Regions from separate parts of the Homo sapiens genome. Here region 2 is linked to region 1. The links are contacts of gene promoters, found by promoter capture Hi-C in blood cells and fetal thymus (Javierre and others, 2016). All regions are on one chromosome and are shown on one strand. Each heading gives the region's core, a stretch centred on a gene start or on the middle of the fragment in contact. The rest is flanking DNA. Distances are from core to core; before and after follow the strand shown.

Region 1 (6,275 bases), core at 948-3,447:
GGAGATGCTTCTAGAAACTAGACTTCTTTCCAGCTTGAGGTGAGCTGGAAGTTAGATCAGTTTCCATTTCTTTCAACTGAAAACGTGATTACAGAAGTCAGTGTTTCATAAGCTTTCTTTTTCCGTGATCACCTTCTTTTGAGACATCCTTTTCCTAGTGGCTCCTTAGAAAGAATAACGGTGGCAAGAGATTTAAATGCACCCGATGTCTGATTCTTTTGACGGAAGATGCCCAAGTAGCATTATTATTATTATTATTATTATTATTATTATTATTATTATTATTATTTTATTACTTTTCATTTTTTTTGAGACGGAGTCTCGCTCTGTCGCTCAGGCTGGAGTGCAGTGGCGCGATCTCAGCTCACTGCAAGCTCTGCCTCCTGGGTTCACACCATTCTCCTGCCTCAGCCTCCCGAGTAGCTGGGACTACAGGCGCCCGCCACCACACCCAGCTAATTTTTTGTATTTTTAGTAGAGATGGGGTTTCACCGTGTTAGCCAGGATGGTCTCGATCTCCTGACCTCGTGATCCGCCCGCCTCGGCCTCCCAAAGTGCTGGGAGTACAGGCGTGAGCCACCACGCCCGGCCAATTCTGTATTTTCAGTAGAGATGTGGTTTCACCATGTTGGCCAGGCTGGTCTCGAACTCCTGACCTCAGGTGATCCGCCCACCTTGGCCTCCCAAAGTGCTGGGATTAACAGATATGAGCCACCGCGCCCGGCCGCCCACTAGTTTTGATTGTGAGTTCTTTTGGTCCTTGGTTTTCGTAAGCGTTGCTTCCTCCTCTGTAGTAGAGTAACAAGCATGCAGCGTAGAGTCGCCGTGAGAGCTGGATTCGGTCGTTGATGGACAGAGCCGAGTGGAGAGCCTGAGATGACTCAGTGCCACACAGGTGCTGCTCACACAGTTGTCCTGGTCATTGTCGTCTAACCACTGAAACTCCCTAGACTTTTCCTACACATGCACACTCACATAGATACGTACAGCAATATGGAGCGCATTGTACATTGGCAGTCCTGAGCTGCTTTTTACCTTTCTAAATTTAATTTCTTTTTTTTTTTTTTTTTTGAAACAGAGTCTCACTCTGTTGCCCAGGCTGGAGTGCAGTGGCGCAATCTCGGCTCACTGCAAGCTCTGCCTCCTGGGTTCACGCCATTCTCCTGCCTCAGCCTCCCGAGTAGCTGGCACTACAGGCGCCCGCCACCACGCCTGGCTAATTTTTTGTATTTTTAGTAGAGACGGGGTTTCACCGTGTTAGCCAGGATGGTCTCGATCTGCTGACCTCGTGATCCACCCACCTCGGCCTCCCAAAGTGCTGGGATTACAGGTGTGAGCCACCACACTCGGCCTTATTATTATTATTTTTGAGAAGGAGTTTTGCTCTTGTCACCCAGGCTGGAGTGCAGTGGCGTGATCTCGGCTCACTGCAACCTCCACCTCCTGGGTTCAAGCGATTCTCCTGCCTCAGCCTCCTGAGTAGCTAAGATTACAGGTGCCCGCCACCACGCCCAGCTAATTTTTGTATTTTTAGTAGACACGGGGTTTCACCATGTTGGCCAGGCTGGTCTCAAACTCCTGACCTTAGGTGATCCGCCTGCCTCGGCCTCCCACAGTGTTAGGATTACAGGCGTGAGCCACTGTGACTGGCCCCAAGTAGCATTATTATATAATGGAGTTTTTGTTTGTTTTTATCTTAGAGACAGGATCTTCTTTCTCTGTCACTCAAGCTGGAGTGCAGTAACGCCATCTCAGCTCCCTGCAGCAGCTTCCAACTCCCAGGCTCAAGCAATCCTCCCGCCTCAGTCACCAAAGCTGGGATAACAGGTGCACACCACCATGCCTGGATAATTTTTAAATTTTTATTCTTTCTAGAGATTGGGTCTTGCTATGTTGTCCAGGATGATCTTGAACTCCTGGCCTCAAGTGATCTTCCCACCTCAGCCTCCAAAAGTGCTGGGATTGCAGGTGTGAGCCACCGAGCCCAGCCTATACCTGTGAAATTTCAATATCATAGATAGACTGTGTATCTGTTTATGTTCTGTTTTCTGGGCTTAATCCATAAAAAAAGTAAAATTTGTTTTCATCTCCCCAAGAATTGATGTTCACCCTGTTGAGAATATATTTGTAAAGAAGTCTCGTACTGCAGGAGTGAGAATGGAGACATCTTCATCACAAATCTCACTCCCCAGAATTAACCACTGTTAACAGTGTGGGGTGGATGGGAACTGATCATCAGTGCAGAACGTGAAAGGAGAACAACTGGGTCGATATTTGCCCACTTTTTTTTTTGGGGGGGGGACAGGGTCTCACTTTGTCACCCAGGCTGGAGTGCAGTGGCATAATCATGGCTCACTACAGCCTCAACCTCTTGGACTCAAGCGATCCTCCCACCTCAACCTCCTGAGTAGCTGGGACCACAGGTGGATATCACTACACCTGCTTAATTTTTTTTTAATTTTAATTGAGACGGGGTCTCACTATGTTACCCAGGCTGGTCTGAAACTCCTGGGCTCAAGTGATTTTCCTGCCTCAGCCTTTCAAAGTGCTGGGATTGCAGGTGTGAGCCCCGCGCTGGGCCTGCCTACTATTTTTTATTTTAATTTTAGGGACCGACTCTCACTCTGTCGCCCAGGCTGCAGTGCAGAGGCACGATCTCAGCTCACTGCAACCTCCACCTCCTGGGTTCAAGCGATTCTCCTGTCTCAGCCTCCCAAGTAGCTGGGATTACAGGCATGCACCACCGCACCCGGCTAATTTTTGTATTTTCAGTAGAGATGGGGTTTCACCATGTTGGCCATGCTGGTCCCAAACTCCTGACCTCAGGTGATCCGCCCGCCTCGGCCTCTCAAAGTGCTGAGATTACAGATATGAGCCACCGCGCCCGGCCGCCCACTAGTTTTGATTGTGAGTTCTTCTGGTCCTTGGTTTTCGTAAGCGTTGCTTCCTCCTCTGTAGTAGAGTAACAAGCATGCAGCGTAGAGTCGCCGTGAGAGCTGGATTCGGTCGTTGATGGACAGAGCCGAGTGGAGAGCCTGAGATGACTCAGTGCCACACAGGTGCTGCTCACACAGTTGTCCTGGTCATTGTCGTCTAACCACTGAAACTCCCTAGACTTTTCCTACACATGCACACTCACATAGATACGTACAGCCATATGGAGTGCATTGTACATTGGCGGTCCTGAGCTGCTTTTTACCTTTTTAAATTTAATTTCTTTTTTTTTTTTTTTGAGACAGAGTCTCACTCTGTTGCCCAGGCTGGAGTGCAGTGGTGCGATCTTGGCTCGCTGCAAGCTCCGCCTCCCGGGTTCACGCCATTCTCCTGCCTCAGCCTCCCGAGTAGCTGGGATTACAGGCACCCGCCACCACGCCCGGCTAATTTTTTGTATTTTTACTAGAGACGGAGTTTTGCTATGTTGCCCAGGCTGGTCTCAAACTCCTGAGCTCAGGCAATCCACCCGCCTCGGCCTCCCAAAGTGCTGGGATTACAGGCATGAGCCACTGCACTCGGCCCTTAAATTTAATTTCCTTTCAGCCGGGCATGGTGGCTCACACCTATAATCCCAGCACTTTGGGAGGCTGAGGTGTGTGGATCAATCAACTGAGGTCAGGAGTTCAAGACCGGCCTGACCAACATGGCAAAACCCCGTCTCTACTAAAAATACAAAAATTAGCCGGACGTGGTGGCGGGCGCCTGTAATGCCAGCTACTTGGGAGGCTGAGGCAGGAGAATCGCTTGAACCCGGGAGGTGGAGGTTGCAGTGAGCCAAGATCACGCCACTGCACTCCAGCCTGGGCAACAGAGTGAGACTCCGTCTCAAAAAAAAAAAAATTTAATTTCTTTTGAGACAGGGTCTCGCTCTGTTGCCCAGGCTGGAGTGCAGTGGTGCCATCATGGTTCACTGCAACCTTGACCACCTGGGCTCAAGCGATCCTCCCACCTCATCCTTTCAAATAGCTGGGACTACAGGTACGTGCCACCATGCCCAGCTAATTTTTTTGTATTTTTTGTAGAGATGAGGTCTTGGTATGTTGCCCAGGCTGGTCTCAAACTCCTGTCCTGAAGCAATCAGCTCGCCTCAGCCTCCCAAAGGGCTGGGATTACAGACGTGAGCCACCACGCCGGGCCATTAAAGACATTTTTGAGATAATCATGGACAATGGGTCACAGGCTGGTTATTGGTAACAGGAAATTATTGTTGATAATCATGGAGCAAGTTGATAATAAGACAGTGTTAATTTGATTGGGTGGTTCTGTGTTGGGAAATCAGAAAGCTTCAGTGATTAGAGAACATTCTGAAGGTTCTACAGGCAAAGTCATATGATGTCTTGAATTTGTGTGAAATACCCGTGCAAAGCTGGAGAGAGAAGTGAGAACAGAAGAAGGGCAGAATGTTAATTCCCGTTGCAGGAGGTGACGACACTCAGAGAGACCTCGTCCTGGCCTGCGTGCTTCAGGCTGTGTTTGAAATTTTCCACTATATGTAATTTTTTAAATTTGCAGTTTCTTTCTTCCTCCTTCCTTCCTTCCTTCCTTCCTTCCTTCCTTCCTTCCTTCCCTCCTTCTTTCTTTCCTTCTTTCTTTCTTTCTTGAGGGAGTCTCACTCTGTCGCCTAGGCTGGAGTGCAGTGGTGTGATATCTCGGCTCACTGCAACCTCTACCTCCCAGGTTCAAGCGATTCTCCTGCCTCAGCCTCCCAAGTAGCTGGGACTACAGGTGCCCACCACCACACCCAGCTAAGTGTTTTGTATTTTTAGTAGAGATGGGGTTTCTCCATGTTGGCCAGGCTGGTCTCGAACTCCTGAGCTCAGGTGATCCGCCCGTCTTGGCCTCCCAAAGCGCTGGGATTACAGGCGTGAGCCACTGTGCCCGGCCTTGATTTGCAGTTTCTGTAAACAACTTGTATAATAGAAAAGCAGAGAAATAAATTTTCCTCCCCTTCAGAAGCACCTCATGTTTGTTTTAAAGTATAGTATTTAATCCAGATTTGAGAAGGTTTGGGGTGAATGAGGTAAGAAAGTTTTTTTTTTTTTTTGGCATCAAATATTTCGGCCTGCCTCTCAGCTTGCTTCAGAAAACTTAAAACATCACAATAGTAATCAAAACATATATAACATTGAAACAGAAGGAAATGGCATGGACCACAGAACTCCAAGGATTGTTTAAAAAAAAAAAAAAAGTGCTACCCCGGGAAAAGTATTTGCAATTTTTTTTTTTTTTTAGATGGAGTCTCACTCTGTTGCCCAGGCAGGAGTGCAGTGGCACAATCTCGGCTCACTGCAAGCTCCGTGTCCCAGGTTCAAGCGATTCTCCTGCCTCAGCACCCCTAGTAGCTGGGACTACAGGCAGCCGCCCCCATGCCCGGCTAATTTTTGTATTTTTAGTAGAGACGAGGTTTCGCCTTGTTGCCCGGGCTGGTCTCGAACTTCTGACCTCAGGTGATCCACCTACCTCAGCCTCCCAAAGTGCTGGGATTACAGGTGTGAGCCACCACGCCCAGTCCTACTCTTAATACTTTTGAAATCTTTAGAGCAGCTTGAAGGCTTGTAAATATATAGAACGAATATTTTAAAAAACAAAAATTGACTCAATACTATTTCTTTTCACTTTGAAAATATAAAGCACAAAATAAAGACAAACATTCCAAGTTTTTTTTTTAAAAAAGGAATTTTCCACTATACATTTTTAAGAGAGGCAGAGATTAAGAACAACATCAGGCCGTTGGTGACCAAGACCAGAAGCCTCTCCCCTCAATCTGGGTGGCCACAGGCCACTTCTCACCACCCGGTGCCCTGTCCTCTTTGAAGTTTTTAGTCTGTGCTGGATTTTCTTACTTTTTTGTGACCTCAGCTGTTGGTTAGAAAGAGTATGCATTTTCTTTTCTTTTTTTTTCCTCCCTCCCTCTCCTTCCTTCCTTCCTTCTTTCCTTCCTTCCTTTTCTTCTTTCTTTTTTTCCCTTCTCCTTTCCCCTCCCTCCGTCCCTCTCTCCCTCCCTCCCTTTCTTTCTTTCTTCCGTCCTTCCTTCCTTCCTTCCCTCCCTCTCCTTCCTTCCTTCTTTCCTTCCTTCCTTCGTTTTCTTCTTTCTTTTTTTCCTTCTCCTCTCCCCTGCCTCTCTCCCTCTCTCCCTCCCTCCCTCTCTCTCTCTCTCTTTCTTTCTTTCTTTCTCTCTTCCCTCCCTCCCTCTCCTTCCTTCCTTCCCCTCCCCCTCCCCTCCCCTCCCCTTCCTTCCCTCTCCTTGTTGCTCTGTCACCCAGGCTGGAGTGAAACGATGC
Region 2 (6,817 bases), core at 3,122-5,621, 310 kb after region 1:
GACAGGTGGGGAAACTGAGGCACAGTGGGCATGAAGTCTCAAACCCCACCCGCCCGGGAAGGCACAGGGAGAAGCTTGTGCTTTTTCAGGATGGAAGTGGACGGAACTAGGATGCAGAAGACCCGGCCAAGAGCAGTCTCCCACTCGCCACAGCCCAGTGTCACTCTCTGGGCCTCGGTTCCCCCATTTGAACCTGGGACTAAGGTTCCTTTATTTCCCTGCCCTTCGGGGGCAGAACAGAGGCCTGTCAGGGACTGTGAGGCGGCCCTCTCTCCATGCCTGGTTTCAAGGCAGCTGGAGGGTGAGGGGGGCTCTAAGCTGTGGGACTCTCCCGTGGGGACTGATTTCCCGTTCTCTCCTACAGCAAAGGCAGGTGAAACTATTGTCCTGTAGGCCTCAGAGTCCCCGTCCAGGAGAGCCGCCTCTTCCCTGTGCAATGCTCTGAGTGCCTGACATGAACCAGGTGCAACCTCCAAGGTTTCCATGAACCCTGACTCATTTATGGGGTGCACTCGGGGGAGGGCAGGGGAGACCCCAGCTGAGAGGCCCTCCCTGCTCAGGCAGCCAAGACCCAGCTAAAGTAACACCCATCTCCTTGGTGGCTGGAAACCTAAGAGGGGACCCCTAAAACCAGGACCAGACCAAGCCATCCTCACGCCCCATGTCTGGGTGGCTTCTGACCAAGCCTGACTTGACTTCCCCTCCCAGACGGAGCTAGGACAGCACTCGGGGTGCCCCAGCCCATGCCGGCACCCTCGTGGATCTCTCACCCCCATCTTCTGGACAGGGACACGCGTTTGGGGTGTCTCTCTCTCTCCCACATCCCCCGACAAGCCGGCATCTTTTCCAGGTGATTCCTGAGCCCTGCGTATGAACTTCCTCCTGTTTTCCTCCACAAGACAGAGGCACAATTCCCACATGTGAGCTTTTGCTTGTGGAGCCAAGGGAAGCTGGAGGCTCAGGTCTCCGGCTTCCATTGCTGTGTGGCCTGGGGCAAGTCACTGCCCCTCTCTGTGCCTCGGTTTGTTTGTCTGTAATTTGGAAGCTAATAGTCCTGCAATAGGCTGGGCATGGTGGCTCACGTCTGTAATCCCAGCACTTTGGGAGGCCGAGGCGGGTGGATCACCTGTGGTCAGGAGTTCGAGACCAGCCTCGCCAACATGGCGAAACCCCATCTTTTCGAAAATACAAAAATTTGCTGGGCGTGGTGGCGGCCACCTGTAATCCCAGCTACTCAGGGGGCTGAGGCAGGAGAATCGCTTGAACCGGGGAGGGGAAGGTTACAGTGAGCCGAGATCGCACCACTGAACTCCAGCCTGGCTACAGAGTGAGACCCTGTCTCAAACAAACAAAACACAGGCATTTTTCTCCAAAAGGCCGATGTCATGTAAAAATCCATCAGCATACGGCATCCCTGCCCTGCCCCGTACTGGGTGATGCTGGGGATCCAGAGAAAATGTGGCCCCAGCTCCCATGGCTCAATAAGGGCTTCTCAAATGAAAGGACAGCTGTAGGATCTGGAGGGGCCTGATCCAGAGGCCACACCACGCTACCAACATTTTTTTTTTTTTTGAAGACAGAGTTTCACCCAGGCTGGAGTGCACGATCTCAGCTCACTGCAACCTCTGCCTCCCGGGTTCAAGCGATTCTCCTGCCTCAGCCTCCCGAGTAACTGGGATTACAGGTGCAGGCTACCATGCCTGGCTAATTTTGTGTTTTTAGTAGAGACGGGGTTTCACCATCTTGGCTAGGATGGTCTCGATCTCCCGACCTCAGGTGATCTGCCTGCCTCAGCCTCCCAAAGTGCTGGGATTACAGGCATGAGCCACTACGCCCAGCCTTTTTTTTTTTTTTTTTAAACGGAGTCTTGCTCTGTCACCCAGGCTGGAGTGCAGTGGTGCAATCTCATCTCACTGCAACCTCCGCCTCCCGGGTTCAAGCGATTCTCCTGCCTCAGCCTCCAGAGTAGCTGGGATCACAGGCACCCACCTCCATGCCCGAATAATTTTTTTTTTTTTTTTGTATTTTTAGTAGAGATGGGGTTTCAGCATGTTGGCCAGGCTGGTCTCAAACTCCTGACCTCAGGTGATCCACCAGCCTCAGCCTCCCAAAGGGCTGGGATTACAGGCATGAGCCACCACACCTGGCCTATCAATATTTTAAATAAAGACAGGATCTGATCTGCACTTGTTTAACCCTGCTTCTCTTTGCCTTACCCTGCTCCTCCACCCGGGTTCCAATAAAACTTTATTGACAAAAACAGAGGCTCGGCCCATAGTTTGCCGGTTAGGTTTTGTGAAACATTCAGTAAAATGATGTTTATCTTGATTACTGAGGTGCATGTTTGTCTGTTTTTGCATTGTTTTATTATTTATTATTGATTTATTTTTGTGATAGGGTCTCACTCTGTTGCCCAGGCTGGAGTTCAGTGTTATGATCATAGCTCCCTGCAGCCTCGACCTCCTGGACTCAAGCAATGCCCCCACCTCAGCCTTCTGAGTAGCTGGGACCACAGGCACACGCCACTGTGCCAGGCTCATGTTTTATTTTTTGTAGAGATGGGGTCTCACTGTGTTGCCCAGGATGGTACCAAACTCCTGGGCTCAAGTGATCCACCCACCTCAGCCTCTCAAAGTGCTGGGATTACAGGCATGTGCCCAGCCTTTGCATCATTTTAAACTCTGTGGCGGGCGCAGTGGCTCACGCCTGTAATCCCAGCATTTTGGGAGGCTGAGGCGGGCAGGTCACCTGAGGTCAGGAGTTCGAGACCAGGCTGGCCAACACGGTGAAACCCCAACTCTACTAAAAATAATAATAATAATACAAAAATTAGCCAGGTGTGGTGGTGCACGCCTGTAGTACCAGCTACTTGGGAGCCTGAGGCAGGAGAATTGCTTGAACCCGGGAGGCGGAGGTTGCAGTCAGCCAAGATTGCGCCACTGCACTGCAGCCTGGACAACAGAGTGAGACTCCATCTCAAAAATAAATAAATAAAATAAAAATTAACCAGGCATGGTGGTGCACACCAGTGGTCCCAGCTACTCAGGAGGCTGAGGTGGGAGAATCACTTGAGCCCAGGAGGCGGAGGCTGCAGTGAGCTATGATCACACCACGGCACTCCAGCCTAGGGGACGGAGCTAGACCCTGCCTCAAAGAAAAAAAAGTGTGGCATGGGACCCACTCAAGGGAAGTTCATAAGAAAAATGTAGTCTCCTTCCCCTCCTGCCCCTTCTCAGGGGATTGGGGGAGGCCAGGGGGACTCAGCAGTGGCTCTGTGGACCTCTGCTCCCAGCCTCGAGCTGCTGCGTGACCCTGGATGGAGCCCCTACTCTTTCTGGGCCCATTTTCCCTAAGGGAAACGGGATCGGGGATCCCACATAAAATACACTCAATCCTTGCAGCAAAAACATCTTTGGGGCCGGGCAGGGTGGCTCACACCTGTGATCCTAGCACTTTGGGAGGCCGAGGAGGGAGGATCGCCCCAGGAGCTCGTTCCAGGCTGCAGTGAGCTGGGATTGCACCACTGCGCTCCAGCCTGGGCAACAGTGTGAGACCCTGTCTCCAAAGAAAAAGACAGTTTTGACAGGCACGCAGTTCAGCTGGAATTTCACCCCGCGTCTGCTTTTCCTTGGGTTTTTTCCATTCTTGATTTTTCCATTTATGGTGATTTTATCTAAAACGTCTTTTCTAAATAAATGCATCGAGGCAGTGAGGAAGGGGGAAGGGGGAAAACGAGCCGATTCCATCTTTTCAAAGAAAAATCCAGCAGGCGTGGCTGTTAGCAGGCGGGATGTGGGAGCCACTCTTCTTTCTTCGCCGGAGCACGGAGAGGGTGGGGATTTGCCCGCAGTCACACAGCGAGGCGCGGCAGAGCCGGGAGGGTCCTCGCCCACGCTCCACATTCGGGGGCCCTGGGATGGGGCAGGGGGCCGCTGGGGGCTCCTCAGATGCTGCCGCAGGAGGGGAGGTGGTTCCCGGGGAAGTGAAACCCACAGACCCCACTTGCACCTTCTCCAGGGACAGCCGCCACCGTGTTCTGTGCGCTCCCCTACGGTGGGCCAGCTCTGCCCCTCTCTCCCCATCTCACAGGGCTCCCCACTGCCCCGCACCCCAGCCTGGCCTCTGAGGCTGTGGGGGGCCTTCCACTGCCCCCACCCGGCTGTCAGCCCTGGGGCTATTGACTTTCAGATCCCACCTCCTGGTCTCTGTCCAGGCTGTTCCCTCCCGGTTACATCCTGTCCTCTGCGGGCGGGCAGGGGAGGCGGCGGCCTCGGCTGCTGGGGAAGTGTTGCAGAAATGTCCCCTCCCCACCCCGGGCTGCGGTCTGACAGTGGGCCGGACGTTTTCCTGTCAGCTGCCGGCGCCAGGTCAGACCCCTCCTGCGAGGCCAGGGGCTGTGGCCATTGGGAGTTTGTCCCCACGGACCCCTCCTCCCCCAGAGGGCACGCCAGTCTTGAAGGTAGGGGGCTCCTGGAGCGGGGAGCTGGACAGAAGCGGCCACTTTTTGAGGTTGGGATCTGGGCGGGGGTGGGTCGAGGCCTGGCTGCCGGCAGCAACCGCACGGCTGAGCCCTCGGGGATGAGGCCTGAGTGTGGATCCCTGGGTCCCTGGACACTGTCTCCCCCGCAACTGACCCCCAAAGGCCTGTCCTCAGGCTGAACACTCTGTCCCCATCCCAAACGTGCAGAGGGGGGTCCTTCCCACTGCCTGGAAAATTGATGGGTGACAGACCTGCCTCATGATTGAGGAAGTGGGCCCAGAGAGGGCAGGAAACCCACTCGGGATCACACAGCAGGGCCCCAGAGAGGGCAGGAAACCCACTCAGAATCACACAGCAGGGGCCCAGAGAGAGTAGGAAACCCACTCGGGATCACACAGCAGGGCCCCAGAGAGGGCAGGAAACCCACTCGGGATCACACAGCAGGGCCCCAGAGAGGGCAGGAAACCCACTCGGGATCACACATCAGGGGCCCAGAGAGGGCAGCAAACCCACTCAGGATCACACAGCAGGGCCCCAGAGAGGGCAGCAAACCCACTCAGAATCACACAGCAGGGGCCCAGAGAGAGTAGGAAACCCACTCGGGATCACACAGCAGGGCCCCAGAGAGGGCAGGAAACCCACTCAGAATCACACAGCAGGGGCCCAGAGAGAGTAGGAAACCCACTCGGGATCACACAGCAGGGCCCCAGAGAGGGCAGGAAACCCACTCGGGATCACACATCAGGGGCCCAGAGAGGGCAGCAAACCCACTCAGGATCACACAGCAGGGCCCCAGAGAGGGCAGCAAACCCACTCAGAATCACACAGCAGGGGCCCAGAGAGAGTAGGAAACCCACTCGGGATCACACAGCAGGGGCCCAGAGAGGACAGGAAACCCACTCGGGATCACACAGCAGGGGCCCAGAGAGGACAGGAAACCCACTCGGGATCACACAGCAGGGTCAAAACTGGACAAGGGAGTGGAGTGTGGGTGCGCCTGTTCTCACCAAGGGCCCTGGAGCAGGAGGCCTCGACGGTCTCCCAGGCCCCAGCACTCACGGACCCCTCCCCATGTCGCCCTGTGCGTGCACACGGTCACCCCACACACGCCCCGTTTGACCTTTCCCCAGCAACATGAGCAGCCCGGAGCCCCCCACAGAGCCCCCCGAGCCCGACAACCCCACCTGGTCGACTCAGCCCACGTATAGCAACCTTGGTAAGCAGCTCCCCAGGGAGCCCTGGGCTGCGGGGGTGCAGGGAGCGGCAGGGGGGTGCAGGGAGCGGCAGGTGGGTGCAGGGAGCGGCAGGAGGTTGCCGGGCACCATGGCCTCTGGGAACAGCAGCAGCTGGTAAAATGAGTGACCTCCGGGAAGGCCCGGAGTAGGCCAGGGCTGAAAAATAACCTGTGGGTTGGTGGGCGGGGCGTGGTGGCTCACGCCTGTAATCCCAGCACCTTGGGAGGCTGAGGCAGGTGGATCCCTTGAGGCCAGGAGTTCAAGACCGGCCTGGGCAATATAATGAGACCCGCCCCCCATCTCTACAAAACAAAAAAAATGAGATGGACATGGTGTCAAGAGCCTGCAGTCCCAGCTGCTCGGGAAGCTGAGGTGGGAGGATCCCTTGAGCCCAGGAGGTCAAGGCTGCAGTGAGCCATGAAATAGAAAAAAATATATACCATTAAAAAGAGAGAGAGGCTGGGCACGGTAACTCATGCCTGTAATCCCACCCTTTAATCCCAGCACTTTGGGAGGCCAAGGAGGAGGATCACTTGAGGCCAGGAGTTCAAGACCAGCCTGGCCAACATGGCAAAACCTGTCTCTGCTAAAAATACAAAAATTAGCCAGACATGGTGGTGCATGCCTGTAATTCCAGCTACTCGGGAGGCTGAGGCAGGAGAATCGCTTGAACCTGTGAGGCAGAGGGTGCAGTGAGCCAAGACTGAGCCACCGCACTCCAGCCTGGGCGACAGAGGGAGACTCCATCTCAAAAAAAAAAAAAAAAAAAAAAAAAAAGGCCAGGTGCAATGGTTCAAGCCTGTAATCCCAGCACTTTGGGAGGCCGAGTCAGGCAGATCACCTGAGGTCAGGAGTTTGAAACCAGCCTGGCTAACATGGTGAAACCCCATCTCTACTAAAAATACAAAAATTAGCTGGGCATAGTGGCGGGCGGGCACCTGTAGTCCCAGCTACTTGGGAGGCTGAGGTAGGAGAATCGCTTGAACCTAGGAGGCGGAGGTTGCAGTGAGCCGAGATCGTGCCACTGCACTCCAGGCTGGGCGACAGAGCAAGACTTCAAAAAAGAAAAAAAGCAAGACAGACGCTTGTGCAAAGCCACGGA

What was found. The method cuts DNA at HindIII sites, captures the fragments that hold promoters and counts their contacts. A CHiCAGO score of 5 or more calls a contact.
Region 2: a contact is called between the fragment with the promoter of PEAK3 here and a fragment that was not itself captured in region 1, in 1 of 17 cell types (total B cells). The highest score is 5.2, in total B cells.

Annotation. Positions count from the first base shown.
Region 1 is chr19:2,592,692-2,598,966 of GRCh38, reverse strand. The region is part of intron 2 of GNG7 (G protein subunit gamma 7); the gene reads left to right. It also overlaps the pseudogene RN7SL121P. Among named protein-coding and RNA genes, the nearest start is that of MIR7850, 35 kb to the left of the region's middle. RefSeq lists an enhancer at 6,009-6,275. The HindIII fragment of the contact is 4,165 bases long and covers 115-4,279 here.
Region 2 is chr19:2,279,729-2,286,545 of GRCh38, reverse strand. It overlaps PEAK3 (PEAK family member 3), which reads left to right and starts at 4,371. Exons shown (of 4, transcript NM_198532.3): 1 at 4,371-4,459; 2 at 5,611-5,696. The coding sequence starts at 5,615. RefSeq lists an enhancer at 4,516-4,655. The HindIII fragment of the contact is 9,031 bases long and covers 77-6,817 here.